4 separate regions of the Homo sapiens genome follow, and regions 1, 2 and 3 are each linked to region 4. Evidence: promoter capture Hi-C in human tissues and cell types (Jung and others, 2019). All regions are on one chromosome and are shown on one strand. Each heading gives the region's core, a stretch centred on a gene start or on the middle of the fragment in contact. The rest is flanking DNA. Distances are from core to core; before and after follow the strand shown. Region 1 overlaps RECK (reversion inducing cysteine rich protein with kazal motifs). Region 2 overlaps RECK (reversion inducing cysteine rich protein with kazal motifs). Region 3 overlaps CLTA (clathrin light chain A). Region 4 holds the start of NPR2 (natriuretic peptide receptor 2).

What was found. The method cuts DNA at HindIII sites, captures the fragments that hold promoters and counts their contacts. A contact is called where the count stands out against the background at its distance.
Region 1: a fragment that was not itself captured here is called in contact with the fragment with the promoter of NPR2 in region 4 in 2 of the 25 tissues and cell types used here (IMR-90 fibroblasts and hippocampus).
Region 2: a fragment that was not itself captured here is called in contact with the fragment with the promoter of NPR2 in region 4 in 3 of the 25 tissues and cell types used here (IMR-90 fibroblasts, stomach and thymus).
Region 3: a fragment that was not itself captured here is called in contact with the fragment with the promoter of NPR2 in region 4 in 1 of the 25 tissues and cell types used here (mesendoderm cells).

What each region holds. Positions count from the first base shown.
Region 1 is chr9:36,052,878-36,057,298 of GRCh38, forward strand. The region is part of intron 2 of RECK (reversion inducing cysteine rich protein with kazal motifs); the gene reads left to right. Among named protein-coding and RNA genes, the nearest start is that of RECK, 18 kb to the left of the region's middle. The HindIII fragment of the contact is 5,209 bases long and covers 1-4,421 here.
Region 2 is chr9:36,072,449-36,077,073 of GRCh38, forward strand. The region is part of intron 6 of RECK (reversion inducing cysteine rich protein with kazal motifs); the gene reads left to right. Among named protein-coding and RNA genes, the nearest start is that of RECK, 38 kb to the left of the region's middle. The HindIII fragment of the contact is 8,058 bases long and covers 1-4,625 here.
Region 3 is chr9:36,194,424-36,198,535 of GRCh38, forward strand. CLTA (clathrin light chain A) reads left to right here. Exons shown (of 5, transcript NM_001833.4): 2 at 3,128-3,165. Among named protein-coding and RNA genes, the nearest start is that of CLTA, 5.6 kb to the left of the region's middle. The HindIII fragment of the contact is 6,945 bases long and covers 1-4,112 here.
Region 4 is chr9:35,788,253-35,792,840 of GRCh38, forward strand. NPR2 (natriuretic peptide receptor 2) reads left to right here and starts at 3,339. Exons shown (of 22, transcript NM_003995.4): 1 at 3,339-4,588. The coding sequence starts at 4,157. It also overlaps a transcript of RGP1 not described here. The HindIII fragment of the contact is 19,498 bases long and covers 1-4,588 here.

The sequences.
Region 1 (4,421 bases), core at 1,318-3,817, 260 kb after region 4:
AAATTGGTAAAATTTGAATATAGACTGGATATTAAATAGTAGTATTATACCAATACTGTGATCCTGAATTTGGTGATTATATTGTGGTTGGGTGTGATGGTGTCCTTGTTCTTAGGAGATACATACTAGGATTTAGGAATGAATGAACATAATGTCTATAACAAATGCTAACATAGTCCTTCAAAATAATAGTATGTAATAATAGTTTGTGTATATATACAGAGAATTAAAGCAAATGTTGCAAAGTGTTTAGGATGGGTGCATCTTGATGAAGACCATGTAGGTATTCACTGTGCTATTCTTAAAAGTTGTCTGTAGGTTTGAATTTTTCTGGTTGAACCTGTTTATGAAAGTTCCACTGAAGCACTACCCATTCATAAAGCCCTACCTTTCTTTCAGGCTTGGTCATGTATGTCTAGCCTTAGCACTCGAGAAACAATAGTCTCAATCATCTTTTAGAGGAGTCTTCAAGTAATAACCTGGATCTTGTTATTTTTAAAACTGAGAGAACTACTTAACTGGGACTATAACTTCTCATAAGCAATAATAATGTAGACGTAGAAAGATTTTGCAAGATACGGTCTGATTATAAGACATGACACTGATTCAGCTCATCTAAATGGCTACCGGAGAATTCAGTGACATGTCAAATCACTATTGCAAATTAAGTTTGCTGCACATTTACTGCCAGAAGAATAGCTTTTTAAAGCAAAAATGGCCCCTTGATGATATCATAAGGAAGCTTTTAAAGTAGTTCTGCTACTTTGGGAAACATGACTTACCTGACTTTTCACTTTGTTTCTTGCTTTTTCTACTGATGTTCTATAGGGTGAATGATTTTTAGGAGGTATCTTGTAATGAGGCACCAGCAGCAGGCAAGGTCTAATTTCTTAAAATCTGGAATGCTAGAAATTATATAACTTAGCAAATTAATTGAATACTATAGTCACCCTAATAAAGAACATTCTTCCCCAACCAAGTTCTTAACTAATTGAGAAATAAGGCAGATAGGTCCAAAAATATTACTCCTATTACTGGTTACACAGATGTCGAATGTGACTTTTATCTCTAGGCACACACTAAGTGACAGAATTAGACTTACTCCCAGAGGAGGAGAGGTAAGGGCTGTGTTACATATGTTTACTTTCCCCTACTAAACTCAATGGTCGGCTAAGTCGCCATCCTGATCATGGGAGAAGTGTATCAGGGGTGTGGAGAGAGACCAGGGCTGTTAAAACTCGTAGAGCTCACTTCAAAGAGAAGGAAATGCTGTGAGTGAGGAATCATTATTTCTTCAACCAGTAGGGAATGCAGACAGGATGGAGTCTTGATGACATTTAGATTTTGAACTGAGTAAACAGCATTCTTGATGACTCTAGGAGGTTAGGGAAAAGATATGGTTTGAGGAGAAGGTGAGCTGTTGAATTATCAGTGAAAACCACTATGTGAAGATAGGGATTTGGAATTAAAACTTTTGGAATTAGAATTTAGATAAGAAGTCAGGGCTGGTAGCTTATCATATTCAGCAAAATATGTGTGATGGTTTACAGTGAAACTGTCAGCAGTGTCAGATGCCAAAGAAAAGTCAAGGAGTTTGAGATCTGAGAAAAGGCCCTTAGTTTAAAAAAAAAAAAAAAAAAAGCCAATTAGTGGAGATTTTAAAAACATCTCCCTGCAGCAGGGATTTTTGTTTGCTTTGTTTATGATGAATTCCGTGGTGCCTAGAACAGTTAAAACAGTATCTAACACTCAAAACTCTCAATAAATATTTGTAGATCAACTGGAGCAAGGGAGCTAAAAGTCACACTGCAGGCATTAAAAATTTTTTAATAAAAATATTTACAGTTATGTAATTTTTTGGACTTACAAAAATGTATTCAGTTTTTGTATATGTCTTACCTGTATATATTATGAATTCCTTGAATATAGGGATTGTGTCTCATTTGCCTATGTTGTATTCATGTCCCTGCTCATGCAAACTAATTAGTTAATATTTTTGAGTTGATTGGTGAAGAAATGGGTACAATGAAAGGAAAAAGCTGGAAAAGTTAGTAAGTGCAGGAAGTAAAGATTAGTTTCAAGATGGAAGGTTTTTACTTGTTTAAAGACAAAGGAAAAATGAGTTATAACAGAGGAAGGAGATAAGTATGGGTAAAAAACTTCTCAGAATTCAAGACTGTAAACCCTATGGTCTGATAATTTCTGCCTTGAGTGGCATACAAGTTTGGTTATTAAATTTTTTGCTCTGAGATGATTTGTATAATTATAGTATATATTCTAGTATGTATTCTGAATAAGCATTCATCTTTCTTTTTAAGTGTGATTACTAGTTGTTTAGCAAGAAAAGTGACTTTATATTCAAGTCTACCTTATTATCTGAAAGTTTACATAGTACCTGCTGGTTTATTTAAGCTAAATGTATTTCTAATAAGTATGTGTTTATCAGTTTAATTCATTCTACTTTATGGGATCATAATTTTAGAGACAGAAGGGACCCAATAGATTATCTAACTTTTTAATTTTGCTTATTAGCTATTCAGGAAACCAGAAACTGGGACCTAAATTTTATTTTACACTTTTCCCTAAGTGCCATGCCCTTTACTATACCCCTTTACATGCATTATTTCATTTAATTCTTACACCCAGCCCTTGAAAAAGGTATTGTCATTATTTGTATATTATAGGTAAAGAAATTGAAATATAGAAGACTTAAATAACTTACCAAGGTCCCAAGCCAATTAGTTGAGGAACAGGGACTCAAACTCAAATGTGTCTGATTACGAAGTCCATACCCTTAGCCACCAGGATATAACTACCTCCTATGAGGCCAAGTAGTTTGCCCAGTGGTATTCAGAGTGTATTTCCAACTCTCAGTTCTATATTCTTTCCATTGTTCTAACCTGTTTCAAGTACTTGTAGGTTTTTTGCCTTTTTTGTTTGTTTTTGTTGTTGTTGAGGGGAGATGGAATTGCAGGAAGAAGAAATGAGTGAGAGAGCATAGCCTTCCCTGTGCTTTTTCCTAGTCTGCTACCAATGTCATATCTTTCGTTTTTTCTTCCTCTTTCTCTTTTCCATTCTTTCTTATCTTTCATTATTGTCTTTTTCAATCGATTTTTCTTTTCTTTCACTCTTCCTTTTGTCTTTTTATAATAGAAAATTTTAAGTATATACAAAGGTAGAGAGAAAAGTGTAATAAACCCCCATATTCAGCTTCAATATTATTAAGTCATGACCAGTTGTGTTTCATTTAAATCTCCTTTTACTTTCCCCACTATACTGAGGCAAATTTATGTAGCAGCAAAATCTCAATTGTCATATTATTTGATCCATAGCTTCAGTTTGGAGCTACAAATGATATGTCATTTAAAAAAAAAATAACCACAATACTGTTATTACTTCTTTGAAAATGTAATATTCAAAAATCTAGTTATTCAGATTTCTTAATTATTTAAAAGGTTTTTTTAGTTTGGATCAGAATTCAAGTGATATATATGTATTGCAGTTGGTTATATGTTTTTTAAATATCTTTTGATCTGTAGGTTTCTCCTTGCAATTTATTTGATGAATTAATTTGATCATTTGTCCTATAGAGTTTCCCATAGTCCAAACTTTGCTATTCACATCCCCCTGGTGTCGTTTAACATTTTCCTTTTTCCTCTGTGTTTCTTAGTAATTGGCAGTTAGATTTAGAGCAGAGCTATCCAATGACACTTTCTACAATGATGAAAATATTCTAGACCTATATGGTAGCCACTAGCCACATGTGCCAGGTGAACACTTGAAATGTGCTTAAAGAGACTGAGGAACTTTAATTTTTAATTTTATTTAATTTTACTTGATTTAAGTTTAAATACCCACACATGGCTAACAGCTACCTTAGCCAGATCCAGAGACTTAGTTTTGTTTAAGTCTTCCCCCAAAAATGTCTCTTTTTGTGATGTTAACAGTCATTGTGATAATTGTCTAAATGCATTAATTCACTAGGCGTTGCAAAATAGTGATATTCTATCTCTTTTCACTTCTTAATTGTAGTTGGTAGTTTTGGAGGAAAATGGCTAATAAATAAGCTAACTGGAGATAAATCCTTTTTCACTGTCCATAGCATTCATGGATTTTACCGTCTCAGCTATTTGCAGGTAATCATGAAGGTCTGTCTGATATGTGTAATGATTTATTATTTACTGAAACACCAAATTGTAATTGCATAACGTCCTATTTGGAAGTGAGCCATTTGGCTTGGTGAGTGAACCTTTGTCAGCTCATCAGCATCAATTAAAAAAAAAAAAAAAAGCTTTGTTTCTATCTTACAGCATTTTATGGAGAATTTATGTGCCATAATGCTGTTTATGAATTTGATCTTCACCAGTATCACGGGTTTGATGACAGTCTATTTTTCATTGTTACCAGTTGACTAAAAGTAA
Region 2 (4,625 bases), core at 1,774-4,273, 280 kb after region 4:
TCACAGCCTAGGCTATGGACAGTTTTGTTCCTTGCCCAGTCAGCTTTTAGGGATTTTAACAAAAGGAATCGTGTGATACTTTGCCCCAGCAAAGCCCTCAGGACCTAAAAGTAAAGCATCTTTTAGTTTATGCTGAGGCAACTTCAAGAATTGCCAGGATATAGTAAATAGAAGACTATGAATGAGAGGCTTTATAAATGGTAAAATGCTGTACCGGTATACTGTATCACAGTAGATTTGAGCCGTTACCTGCAGCTGATGAGCTCCAAAAAGAGCGAAACCTATTAGGTCCTGCAGTACTGGCTTAAGATAGTATTAAACTTTGTATGTTGTTTTGGTTTGTCGTATTTGTTTTGTAGTTGGGGGAAGGGAGTAACTCCTATTTAGTCTCCTTGCTGCTAGTGTATTTCCTTTTCCAGTTCATTCTTCTCAGAAGTCACCTGAACGAGATGATTCCAAAAGGGAATTTGATCAAATCAGATTAGATTGCGACCTGGTCTCATCTTAAGTGGCCAAGGTTTTCCCCTTAAGCAATCTCATCTCCCATAGATTTAATTGTTCTTATATGCTGACAACTTCAGAATCTTCATTGCTAACCTTTTTTTTTTTGAGCTCCTGAACACTATTGGATACATGTACTTTTGATGTTCCCTTGGAACAACAAACAATCAAACCAAAATTGATTGATTTTAAATCAACCAAATTGATTATTACTTTCTCTACCTTTTCTGCCTCCCCTTCCCTCCCTTCCACCCCTAAACAGCAACACACAGACACACACAGACACACACAGACACACACACACACACACACACACACACACACACACATCCATCCCAAAACAAAACTTATGATTTTTCTTGCATTTCTTGTTTGGTTGTACCAATATGATCCTTCCAGGCACATCAACTTAAATGCCTGAGAGGTATTGTCTACTCTTTCCTCTTTCTCATCACCTCCTGCAAATTACTGTCTCTCAAGCCTAAAGAGTTGCCTTCTAAATGTACCTTAAATCAGTCTCCCTTTCAGATCCTCAGGTATTGCCTTAGCTTAGGTCTTTCTGCCACTTTTCTGGATACCTATAATAGCTGCCAAACTAGTTTTCCTGTGTCTAATTTCTCCTCTTATCTACTATATCCACTTCTAGATTAATCTCTTTAAAGACCAAATTTGATCCATGTCACTACCTTCCTTAAACCCTTCAGTTGCTTCCCTGTAGAACACAGCTCATGCTCCTCAGCCCAGTATCCCAAGCTTTTCTCAGTCTAGCTCCTGGTTCTTCTCTCTGTTACATTTAAGCAGCATGCTACTTATAGTTTCCCAGATTGACCCTGTTGTTTTATTTGTTAGTTGTAGTTGTACAAATTGTTTGTTCCACCTGGAATTCCTTCTTCTGAATCTTGGAACAAAAAGTATAGTATATTGGAGCTGGCAATACCAGCTCCCTACCAGCTAGGGAGTACTGCTTGTTAAATATTCAGGGATTTTGCAAGCCAGCTTGTAACTTAAAATCAGCCATGGGTGGAGGTATTTGCAGCGTGAACATCAGCAAATACTGCAAATCCAGATTTTCTCCACAACCACCCCCCACAAAAAAAGCTGGTTCCAGAACATCATTACCTCTATTGAACTAGAGTAACCTTTGCCTTAAATCCTGGTTTAAATGGTACCACTTTAAAGCCTTTCCTGCCCATTCATCTTCTCTCCACACACATAAAATTGATCACTACTTCCAAGCCCTTTGCATGCTTTATTATAGCATTTGTCGCTCTATAGCATAACTATGTTTACATGTCTCTTTTTAAACTAATCCCTGAGTTCCTGGGACAGAGTTCATATAATTATCTTTGTCTCTGTCATTCATTCACTTAACATTCATTGAACTGATACACACTGAACCAATATATTTAATATGTATCAGGCATTGTTCTCAGGGTACAAAAATGAAAGGATTTAGTCTGCAAGAAGCTCATAGTCCATGGGAAGAGAGAAATCCAAATAGTCCATTACAATACAGTGAGACAAGTACATTGCTAGAATGTATTGGAGCCTGGAGGAAAAAACCCTGCCTAGGGAAATGGGGAAGTCTTTCACAGAGCAGGTAAGACTTAAAGGATGAGCAGAAAGCTGTTGCCTGTAACAAAGTGCTACAGTCAGTACTTTTATAGATAGAAAAATTTTATAGACTTTTTCCCACTCTGGAGAACAGAATTATTCAAGGTTCTTTGTAACACAGTATATCAGCTTTACGTGGAAACTCTGTGTAAATGTCTTACACTCTTGGAATGCATGGAGAAAGTGCTCATTTTCTACTGTACTGTGGAGAATGTTTTCATTCTGAGTACTATCTATTATCCCAATAATGTTGTATAGTAAACCATCCCAAAACTCCATAGCTTAAAACAGTAACAATTTATTATTTCTCACAAATCTAAGGGCTTACTAGGCAGTTCTGCTCTGGCCAGGCTTAGCTGATTCCAGCTGGGCACACTCATCTGTCTACAATCAGATGGCAGGTCAGCCTGGGGCTGCCTGCTTTAGGAAGCCCTTGGCTAAGTCAGCTCAGATCTTCTCCATGTTTTCCCCTCCCTTTAGCAGACTAGCTCAGGCATGTTCACGTGGTGGTGGCAGGAGTCCAAGAGAGAAAGTGGAAACATGCAAGTGTAGTTCGGGCAACTGCTTACTCCAAGCTTGCTAGTGTCCACTAGGCCAAAGCAAGGCAAGTCACATGGCTAAGGCCAGAGTTACTGTACAATAAATAGATATAAGGAAATGTGAAAAATTGGGGCCATTACTGTAGTCAGTTCACCACAAGCACATACTCTGTGCTAGGCTGTCTTCTAGACCTTGTGTTTCTCTGCAGATGTTACTTGCCAGTGAATTTGCTTCCAGCTGGTTGGGTGCCCTGTGGTGATAATGAGCAAATTTTTCTGAGCAGTCTAGACCTATAAAGCTCATTTCTGTTTTGAGTGTTCATTTTTATTTGCATATCTGTTGAAATGACACATTATTTGGAAGGCTGAAGAAATTTAATAATCACTTGTTTAGTGATATTTCCAAGTCATGACATTAAACTCCTTACATATTCTAGTCATCTATACTTTTTGACATTCATGGTATCCACAAGGAAAAAACACCTTGTAGAGGTTTAAAAACATTTATGTTTTTAAAGAACAGTTATATTTAACCTCTCCTACTTAGCATTTCATAAGCTGGATTTCTTCTATGAAATGTGAAACTTTAAACTGGAAGAAATTTCAACCCATCTGTGAAAAGGAAACAGATTTTTATTTATTGAGGCCTTAGAAACAAAGTAGCCCCTTTACTTTTAAGTAATAGCATAGTTAAGTAGAAAGTACTGGGCATATAAAACATTAACATAACAGTTAATAAAATGTGCTCTTTTGGGTCTTTGTCCAAAAGTAACTAAATCATCCAAAATTCAAACCTGTAATTTTTTTTTACAAGATTCATATGATCAGTGTTTTGTTGTCATCATCTTTATCATTGATGAAAATGAGAGAGAGCTGGAGTAGTCAGTAGTAAAAGGGCAGTGGACAGAGAAAGGATTGAAACAAGTGGACAAATGGAGGAATGAACCATTTTTTTCAAATCCAAAAGCCAAATCAAATTGGACAGCCAGATATACGTAGCAAGCAAAGGGCAGAGCCAGGGCTAGAACCCGGACTGCCCTACCAGTGCTCTTCCATGACACTGCGTTGTGAGAATAGTCTGGTCTCACTGTATTGCAATGGACTATTTGGATTTCTCTCTTCTGAATGCACCCAAAGCAAGGTTGAATGTTTGTTCATAGATTAATCTATTTAACCAGTTTCCTATTTTAAAAATCAATAGAAAAGGGTCACTGAAGTGGCAGAAAATAAATTGCAGAGCGAACTTCTGGGCTAGAGGTTGGACCAGCAGAGTCTACTTCCCAGGTGCACCCAAAGGGTCTTCCCCACCAAAAGGAAAACCAGTGTGGCATGAAGGATCACATAGGGTTCCCTCAACTTTGATTTACTCTGTTTTTGTGCCAGGTTTGCCCACAGTTCATATGCTCCCAACAGTGGATCAAAGGGCTTGTACTACCTGGAATTCCCTCTTCCTGAATCCATCCTAACACACCCCCACCTAGTAATATATTGGAGCTGACATCTACCAGCTTGGGAGTACTAATTGTCAAATATTCAGGAATTTAATCGCGAGAGTAGGGCAGGGAACTAGTTATTGAGAGCAGCTACCAGAGGAAAGATTTTAGGATCAAAAATAATTTTTTTAGGATCAAAATATTTTTAAGGAAAATAATATTAACCTCAAGAAAATGGTGACCTTTTTTGGTTACAATTTAAGGAGCTGATTTTAAAAATAGGGGACTGGTTAAATAGATTACTCTGTGAACAAACATTCAACCTTGCATTGGCTGCATTGAGAAAAACAACCCAGACTATTCTCAGTGCAGTGTCATGGAAGAGCACTGGCAGGGCAGTCTGGGTTCCAGCCCTGGCTCTGCCCTTTGCTTGCTTATACATATCTGGCTCTCCAACTAGATAGTGACAGCTTTTGGATTTGAAGTTCTCTTGAGACCCTGTCAACTCCAGTATGCTGACATGTTCTTTGCATCTTTG
Region 3 (4,112 bases), core at 804-3,303, 400 kb after region 4:
TTAGGGAAATCTCATGCATGATAGTTAATTGTACTGCACATTTGCTGTATACCAGGTACACTTTCAGATCCCAGCAGTAGCTCCACAGGTTAAGTGGTAGTGTCATATTTCAGATGAGAATGGATCGGTGTGGAAGTTGAGCAGTGTCACTAAGGTAGCAAGGTAATAAATGGCTCAAGTGCAGCTTCAAACGTAGGTCTGCTTGACTTCAAATGTTTCTGGAATGTGGAAAGTTGAAAGTGGGTTTGGGACAGTCTTTCACTTTTGAAAACTGGCCCTTTTTCTGTCTGGAGTTCCTGAAAGGCCCTAGAAAGTTTCCTTCTGAAGCATCGTGTTGCTTAGTTTAGTTGTTGTAGTAAGTCAAGGCCCTACATGTCCTTTCTGCATGTTTCCACAGCAACAGACGATCCCTTGGCTTGAGCCAGTTGATTCTTGTAAGAATGTTAGTGCAGTAATACAGTAACTAATAAAGAGGAAAGCAGATGCCAGTGGGTCTGGAGGAGCCTTCAGACAGCATGTGATTTTTAAGGAGATGTGGGATGAGGATTGCTTCTTGTTTTGTATATGGAGTAGTGATCAAAGTCTCTCATATTCCAGCCCAGGGCTGGACTATATTAGTGGATAGTTGGTATGTCAATTGTACTATATTAACCATAATGTAGGCCTGGCCAGACTAGCCACTGTAGGATCTAGGATTTAAAACTATCTCACTCTTCTGTCTTACACAAAAATAAATTCCAGGTGGATTAAAGAGAGACATTTAAAAAGTAAAAGAAGAAAAGTGAGTATTTGTCTATCTCATAATAGGAAAGGCCTTCAGCATAAAAGCAGATACAGAAATCATGAAGAAAAAGTCGATCATGTCTACATACACAAATTAAGTTGTTCCAAGTGTTAAATACCATAAACCAAATCAAAAGAGAAACTAGGGAAAATATTTGACTATTAGAGAGCAAATACTTAGAGATCAAAAAATAGCAGGAAAATAGGCAAACTCAGAAAATTCAGTAAAGAAGAAAATCAGGTGTCGGGTATGTGATTACCTCACTGGAAATAAGATTGGCACAACAAAGCCACCATGAGTTTGTTTTTTTTTTCCATTATCAAATTAGCAAAAATTTTAAAACATGATCAAGCACAGTCCCTAGTATCAGGGAAGGTCTAAGAAATGGGGCACTTGTGCTGCTAGTAGTAATATAAACTGGTAGACTAATAGGAACAAGTGGGTAGAATTTTAGAAGTCTTTGAAATACATATCCTGGGCCAGGTGCGGTGGCTCACGCCTGAAATCCCAGCACTTTCGGAGGCTGAAGTGGGCGGATCACCTGAGGTCAGGAGTTTGAGACCAGCCTGACCAACATAGTGAAACCTCGTCTCTACTAAAAAATACAAAAATTAGCCGGGCATGGTGGCACGTGCCTGTAATCCCAGCTATTCGGGAGGCTGAGGCAGGAGAATCACTTGAACCTGGGAGGCGGAGGTTGCAGCAAGCCGAGATCGCGCCAGTGTACTCTAGCCTGGCCAACAGCGTGAGACTCCGTCTCAAAAAAAATAAAAAAATACATATCCTGGCTGGGCGCAGTGGCTCATGCCTGTAATCCCAGCACTTTGGGAGGCTGAGGTGGGTGGATCGTCTGAGGTCAGGAGTTCGAGACCATCCTGGCCAACGTGGTGAAACCCCCGTCTCTACTAAAACTACAAAAAAAATTAGGTGGGCATGATAGCTCACGCCTGTAGTCCCAGCTACTCAGGAGGCTGAGGCAAGAGAATCACTTGAACAACCCAGGAGGTGGAGGTTGCAGTGAGCCAAGATTGCACCACTGTACTCTAGCCTGGGCAACAGAGCAAGACTCTCTCTCAAAAAAAAATAAAATACATATCCTGTGATCCAGCAATTCCTTTTTTTTCTTTCTTTTTTCTTTTTTTTTTTTTTTATTTTTTGAGATGGAGTCTCGCTCCGTCACCCAGGCTGGAGTGCAGTGGCGCGATCTTGGCTCACTGCAACCTCTGCCTCCCGAGTTCAAGCAATTCTCCTCTTTCAGCCTCCTGAGTAGCTGGGATTACAGGCTCATGCCACCACCCTGGCTAATTTTTGTATTTTTAGTATATGGAGGTGGGTTTCACCATGTTGGCCAGGCAGGTCTTGAACTCCTGACCTCGAGTGATCCTCCCACCTTGGCCTCTCAAAGTGCTGGGATTATAGGTGTGAGCCACCGCGCCCAGCTGTAACCCAGCAATTCTACACCAAGAAATTTATTACAGAGGCGAAATTGAATATGCTTCCCCCATGCTTTCACTAGTTTGATAAACTTCATATTTCCAAAACTTTATAGAGTGCTTAAAAAACTACATAGGTAGGTGGCACATGCCTTAAAGTGGTAAAAGGCCACTGACAAACTATAAGAAACTCATTTTTGTACTGACATATAGGAGTAAAAGTCAACTAGGAAAATTAAGAAAAATATGAGAGGCCAGGCATGGTGGCTCATGCCTGTAATCCAATACTTTGGGAGACCGAGGCGGGTGGATCGCTTGAGTCCAGGAAATCGATAGCAGCCTGGGCAGCATGGCGAAACCCCCTTCCTACAAAAAAATAGAAAAATTATCCAGGCGTGGTGGCGCATGCCTGCAATCCCAGCTCCTGTGGGGACTGAGGTGGGAGGTTCGCTTGAGCCCAAAAGGTCGAGGCTACAGTAAGCCATGATTGGGCCACTTTGCTCCAGCCTGGGCGACAGAGCAAGACTGTCTCAAAGATGAAGCTGCAGGTCTCTGCTCACTATGGGTGATTCCAGGCCACACTTTTTTTTTTCCCTCATGCAGAATTTTCATAGAGAAACACTGTTCTCTTTCTGCTAGTCTTCCATTTGTTACCACTGTAAAATAGAAAACAGAAAATAAAATCAAAAGCTTTTGGACTTGGGAGCTTAAGGACAGATGTGTACACATTTTGGTGAAATTTGTATATAAGCACATCTTGGTTTTATTTGTTGTATATAGCACCTACCACAGGGATAGCATTTAGTAGCTCAAGGTTCATACAGCATATGATGCTGTATTCTACTGTACAACCCTTTGGCCCAGTGTTTGACCAGTCCTTATTGATAGACCAAAATCTTATGTCTTGCAGATGCTGTTGATGGAGTAATGAATGGTGAATACTACCAGGTACAGAGTACTCTGATTCTGTTCATTGATAGTGATTGAGAATCTTCCTTTCCTGTGATTTTAATTGACTGACCTAGAAAGAAACCCCAGTCCTTTGACTTTCCTGAATGTATTACTGGCTGGTGTGTTATCTACCAAAGTGGAAAGATTTAAAGAGAGGTAGCATTGATAAAAAGAGAACTGTTTAAAAATGTTATTTACCTGCCCCTAGTGTTATCACCTTTATTCTAAAGAAATCACCATTCAAATGATACTGTGTTGAGTGCAGTAAGTTAATACTAATACTTTAAATAATTCTCCTTCCATCTTTGTTTATAGTCTGATTAGGTTAACCTGGTAATATTAATATTCCTTAGTTCAGTGAGTGGCATATGGAATAATTTTGTAAAGATTAACATTTATTTGAGTCTTTTTTTTTTTTTTTTTTTTTGAGACAGTCTCACTGTCGCCCAGGCTAGAGTGCAGTGGCACGATCTTGTCTCATTGCAACCTCCACCTTCTGGGTTCAAGCGATTCATCCACTTCAGCCTCCTGAGTAGCTGGAATTACAGGCGCATGCCACCACGCCCGGCTAATTTTTTGTATTTTTAGTAGAGATGGGGTTTCGCCATGTTGGCCAGGCAGGTCTTGAACTCCTGGGCTCAAGTGACCATCCCGCCTTGGCCTCCCAAAGTGCTGGGATTACAGGCGTGAGCCACCGCACCCCGCCAGAGCCACCGCAACCTTGGCTCACTGCAGAACCCGTTTCTAACAACAATGGCGGCTTTTGTAAAATGTTAAAGGATTACCTTAAAAGCAACAACACAGGCCGGGCACGGTGGCTCACGCCTGTAATTCCAGCACTTTGGGAGGCTGGGGTGGGTGGATCATTTGAGGTCAAGAGTTCGAGACCAGCCTGGCCAACACAGTGAAACCCGTCTCTGCTAAAAATACAAAAATTAACCAGG
Region 4 (4,588 bases), core at 2,089-4,588:
CAGTTTAGTTCTGGATCAGAAATAAGGTGTTTGGGGCCGGGCGTGGTGGCTTACGCCTGTAATCCCAGCACTTTGGGAATCTGAGGCGAGTGGATCACTTGAGGTCAGGAGTTCGAGACCAGCTGGCCAACATGGTGAAACGCTGTCTCTACTAAAAACAAAAATTAGCTGGGCATGGTGGCGGGCGCCTGTAATCCCAGCTACTTGGAAGGCTGAGGCAGGAGAATCACTTGAACCTGGGAGATGGAGGTTGCAGTGAGCCGAGATTGCGCCACTACATTCCAGCCTGAGTAACAGAGTGAGACTCTGTCTCAAAAAAAGAAAAAAAAAAAAAGAAAAAGAAAGAGGGTGTTGATTGACCCTATCCAGAAGAAATTATAGCTGGTATCTGTTTGTGGATTAGAAGAAGGCCATGACAGTGCTACAAAGAGAAAGTTGGACCCTAGCTGGTTGCTGCTTAGGCCAGTAGAATCTAGATTTCCTAGGTTTTCTATGTATTGCAGCATGGTCACCAAATACAGCCAAAATATTATTGCCCATATCAATGACAGCAGTGATAGCTTGGATAGTGGGATATATACATAACCGAAGTTCTCATTTATTTAATATTTTCAGCTTTCCCTCAAACATGAAAAAATAAACACCAAAAGCCTTTCACTGTGTGTTAATAAAAAACCTCATTAGGGGATTTATCTTTTATCTCCCCACTCCTTCCCACTTCCCTTTTGTCTTTTAAATTTTATTTTTAGTTTTTACTTATGTTTTCTTTTCCTTTCTTTCTTTCTTTTTTCTTTTGAGATGGAGTCTTGCTCTGTCGCACAGTGGCGCGATCTCTGCTCACTGCAATGTCCGCCTCCCAGATTCAAGCGGTTTTCCTGCCCCAGCCTCCCAAGTAGCTGGGATTACAGGTGCCCACCACCACGCCCAGCTAATTTTTGTGTTTTTAGTAGAGACGAGATTTCACCTTGTTGGCCAGCCTAGTCTCGAACTCCTGACCTCAAACAATCCTCCTACCTTGGCCTCCTAAAGTGCTGGGATTACAGGCGTGAGCCACTGCACCAGGCTCCTTCCACTTCCTTTTTTTTTTTTTTTTTTTTTGAGACAGGGTCTTGCTGTCACCCAGGCTGCCTCTATCCTCTGGGATCAAGCGATCCCCCCACCTCAGCCTCCCAAGTAGCTGGGACCACAGGTTCGTGCCACCATATCTGATTGATTTGTTTGGTTTTTAATAGAGATTATAGGCATTACAGGCAAGAGCCACCGTGCCTGGCCCCTTCCTACTTTCTAGTTAACTGGCCAACTGGGAGGAAAAGGGAAAGGCAAGATGCTTGAATGTTTAATCCCTAACATAATGAAGAATAGTCCTTAATGTTCAGAATAATGACATATGATGCACTTGTACTTGCGTAGGAGTCTGGGTGACAGTGGTGGCTGATCCTCACTGAGGGCTGCAGGTGTTCCAGAGAGACTTGCCTGGGTTTGGTGGCTATTATATTGTAAGCACAGCTTTCTACAGTAAGTTCCATGAGTCAGCAAAATATCTATAAAGAGCCTCTCCTTGGAGACCATGAAACCTGCATTTTAATCTCTCTTTTGCAACTAAAAAGCCATGTGGGATTGGGGGAGAGGAGCAAGTAAGGACACTGCGACCTTCCTCTCTGGGATTTGGTTTTCAATTATCTTTAAATGAGAGGGCTAAACAATATATTTATATGATCCTCTTAGCCCTGCCATTCTGTAATTCTTTCAGGAATTTTGTCATTTTGGATTTGCTTGTCTCATAAAACAATGTGTAGTTGCTTAAAAATCAACTATTCTATTTGGTTGACTTGGTCTAAAGTATTTCTCATGTTGTCTCGTCATTCTTTTGACTGTTCCTTTTTTTTTTTTTTGCCTTGGCCAGATAGGACAAAATTCCTTTTCACTGCAGTATTGGGAGCCTGGAACTAGAGTTACCAACCCCTCTGCGTTAAAGAAGGAGCTGTCCTGAGGCTTCCATCTCTACTGGGCTTGAGGCAAGAACATTGTTAGGGACGGCCTGCTCTTGGCCTCTGTGCCCCAGGGATTGCAAATGCATGTTCCTCAAAGGTAAGGGCTGTATCATTCGGCTTTCTTTGTATTCACAGGTACAGCTTGTGCTAGGCAGCCGGTGTTCAATAAATATCGTGCCTAAGGATAAAGTGGCATTGTCCTTAATTTCCCCCACCAAACCACTAGGTGTCGCCTTCATCTCAGGGAAACCATGCCCGTCCTCGCCCTATACACTCCCACCCCACTCCAGGGCTCCAGGAGCGCTCTTAGCTTGTGATTTCTGGAGAAATAGCTTGAAGGGGGGAGAGAAACCGTGGCTCTTAGCGCGGGCAGAGAATGGGCTTATGTGCATGTCCTTTATGACAGTTGGAGAAAAATCCCCAAGGTCCCATAGCAGTCCCTCTCAGCCACCATGAGATCATCCCTCACAAGCTGTTCTTGGGGTCAGATTGGCACTCCAGATATGAGGGCCCTAGGGAGAGCTTCCTAAGGGAAGCTGGGAGCAAGGTGGAACCCCAGGAGAGCGTGGATGGGCTTCCACTGCGGGGAGTGTCCCGCCGGTCCGTTACAGGCTTTCCCCAGGCGCCAGCCTGCGCTGTGCAGGAGACAAAAGAAAATCGAGGCCCTGACTGAGCAGATGGTGCGGAGGAAGCCGGGCGGGCTGCGGTGGGCCTCTGAGGACACGAGGAGGGCAGGGGGCATGGAGACAGCGGGGGGCCGAGAGTTGAGTCCCAAGCAAGAAGGAGCCTCGTGGACTTTCTAAGGACTGGTGGGAAGTGTACAGCAGGGGCCCCTGGCTGCTGGAGGGGCCCGTCCAGGGAGCGGGCATGGTCCGCGGTGGAGTAAGCCGCACTGCCGTCGGGAGGGCGCTATGGTTTGCTAGGTGAGGGGGCTGGTGAGGATACCACACGTCTGGGGATCCTCGACTGCTTCCTGGAGACTGGAACCACTGAGGGACTCAGGGAGTTCAGAGGGGAGACCCAAGAAGAACGGGCTGAGCGAGGGGGAGAGGACAAACCCTGGGGTCGCTGGCGTGTGTGAGATGGAAATGGAAGGAGGGGCGGCAGGGGGACCAGGGGCGTGGGGGAGACCAGGGTAGGCCCTGAGAGTGAGGGAGCGCCCGGGAACCCTGCTGGCCGGCGAGGCCTTGGTGCGGAGCCCCCAAGTGCTCACCGGGGTGGGTTTGGGACCTGGCGGTCCCGAGCGCCCGGGTGGGGGGTGGGGGAAGGCAGCCGGCGCCGGAGGGTGGGGCCGGGAGGGAGGAGGAGAGGCAGCGGGGGAGGGGCGGGGGCGGGCGGCCTGCCCGGGGGAGTCGCACTCGGCCGCCGGCGCAGCGAGCGGAGACGGGCCGGGCCGAGGCGACCTGACCCGGACGAGCGGCGCGCGCGGGGCCCAGGCGGGGGGCGGGAGGAAGCGCCGGGCAGCGCCGGCCGCCAGGGCCCAGGAGAAGCGGAGCAGAGAGGAGCGGGGACACGGGCGGGGCCGCCGTAGCTCCGGATGGGACCAGCGCCCGGGCCCGTTAGTCCAAGCAGGAGCTCCGGGAGAATCCTTCACAGGGAGATTTACCCCTGCCTTCCCCTGCCCTCCGGCCCAGGCCTCGCTTCGCTCCCCGCCTGCCCATGATCCCAGTCCTTCCGCGGCGCGGGCACCCTCCCACCTTACCCCCTTGGTCCTATGTGGCGCAGCGCCCTCCTGCCCTCCCGGCCCTTTCAGCTGTGAGGTTCCCCCAGGCCGTTTCTTTGTACCACCCGCCCCCCACCCCCACCCCATCCCAGTCCCAGATCCCCTTTTCCTTCTCAGCTTTAGATTTATCAGGCTTCTTCACCTCGCACTGTCCCCATCCTGGCCGCAGGCCCCCTCGGTCCCTCCCTCCCCCTGCCACCCCGTTCTCAGTCCTCAGTCCTTGCCCTAGGCTGGTAGCCCACTCCTTGCCCGCCCCCCGCCTTCCTCCCATCTCCCCCTCCTCTCCCCGGCCCCCAGCACCTTCTGCATCCCAGCCTACCTAGCCTACTCCTCCTCTTCCTGGCCCTCTTCCCCAGGCTCCAGGCTGGGGGGTGCTCGCGTCTCCCCTGTAGGCCAGAGCAGCCCCAAGTTCTGGGGGCGGTGGGGCTGCTGCTTTATCCCCATGGCGCTGCCATCACTTCTGCTGTTGGTGGCAGCCCTGGCAGGTGGGGTGCGTCCTCCCGGGGCGCGGAACCTGACGCTGGCGGTGGTGCTGCCAGAACACAACCTGAGCTATGCCTGGGCCTGGCCACGGGTGGGACCCGCTGTGGCACTAGCTGTGGAGGCTCTGGGCCGGGCACTGCCCGTGGACCTGCGGTTTGTCAGCTCCGAACTGGAAGGCGCCTGCTCTGAGTACCTGGCACCGCTGAGCGCTGTGGACCTCAAGCTGTACCATGACCCCGACCTGCTGTTAGGTCCCGGTTGCGTGTACCCTGCTGCCTCTGTGGCCCGCTTTGCCTCCCACTGGCGCCTTCCCCTGCTGACTGCGGGTGCTGTGGCCTCTGGTTTTTCGGCTAAGAATGACCATTATCGTACCCTGGTTCGCACTGGCCCC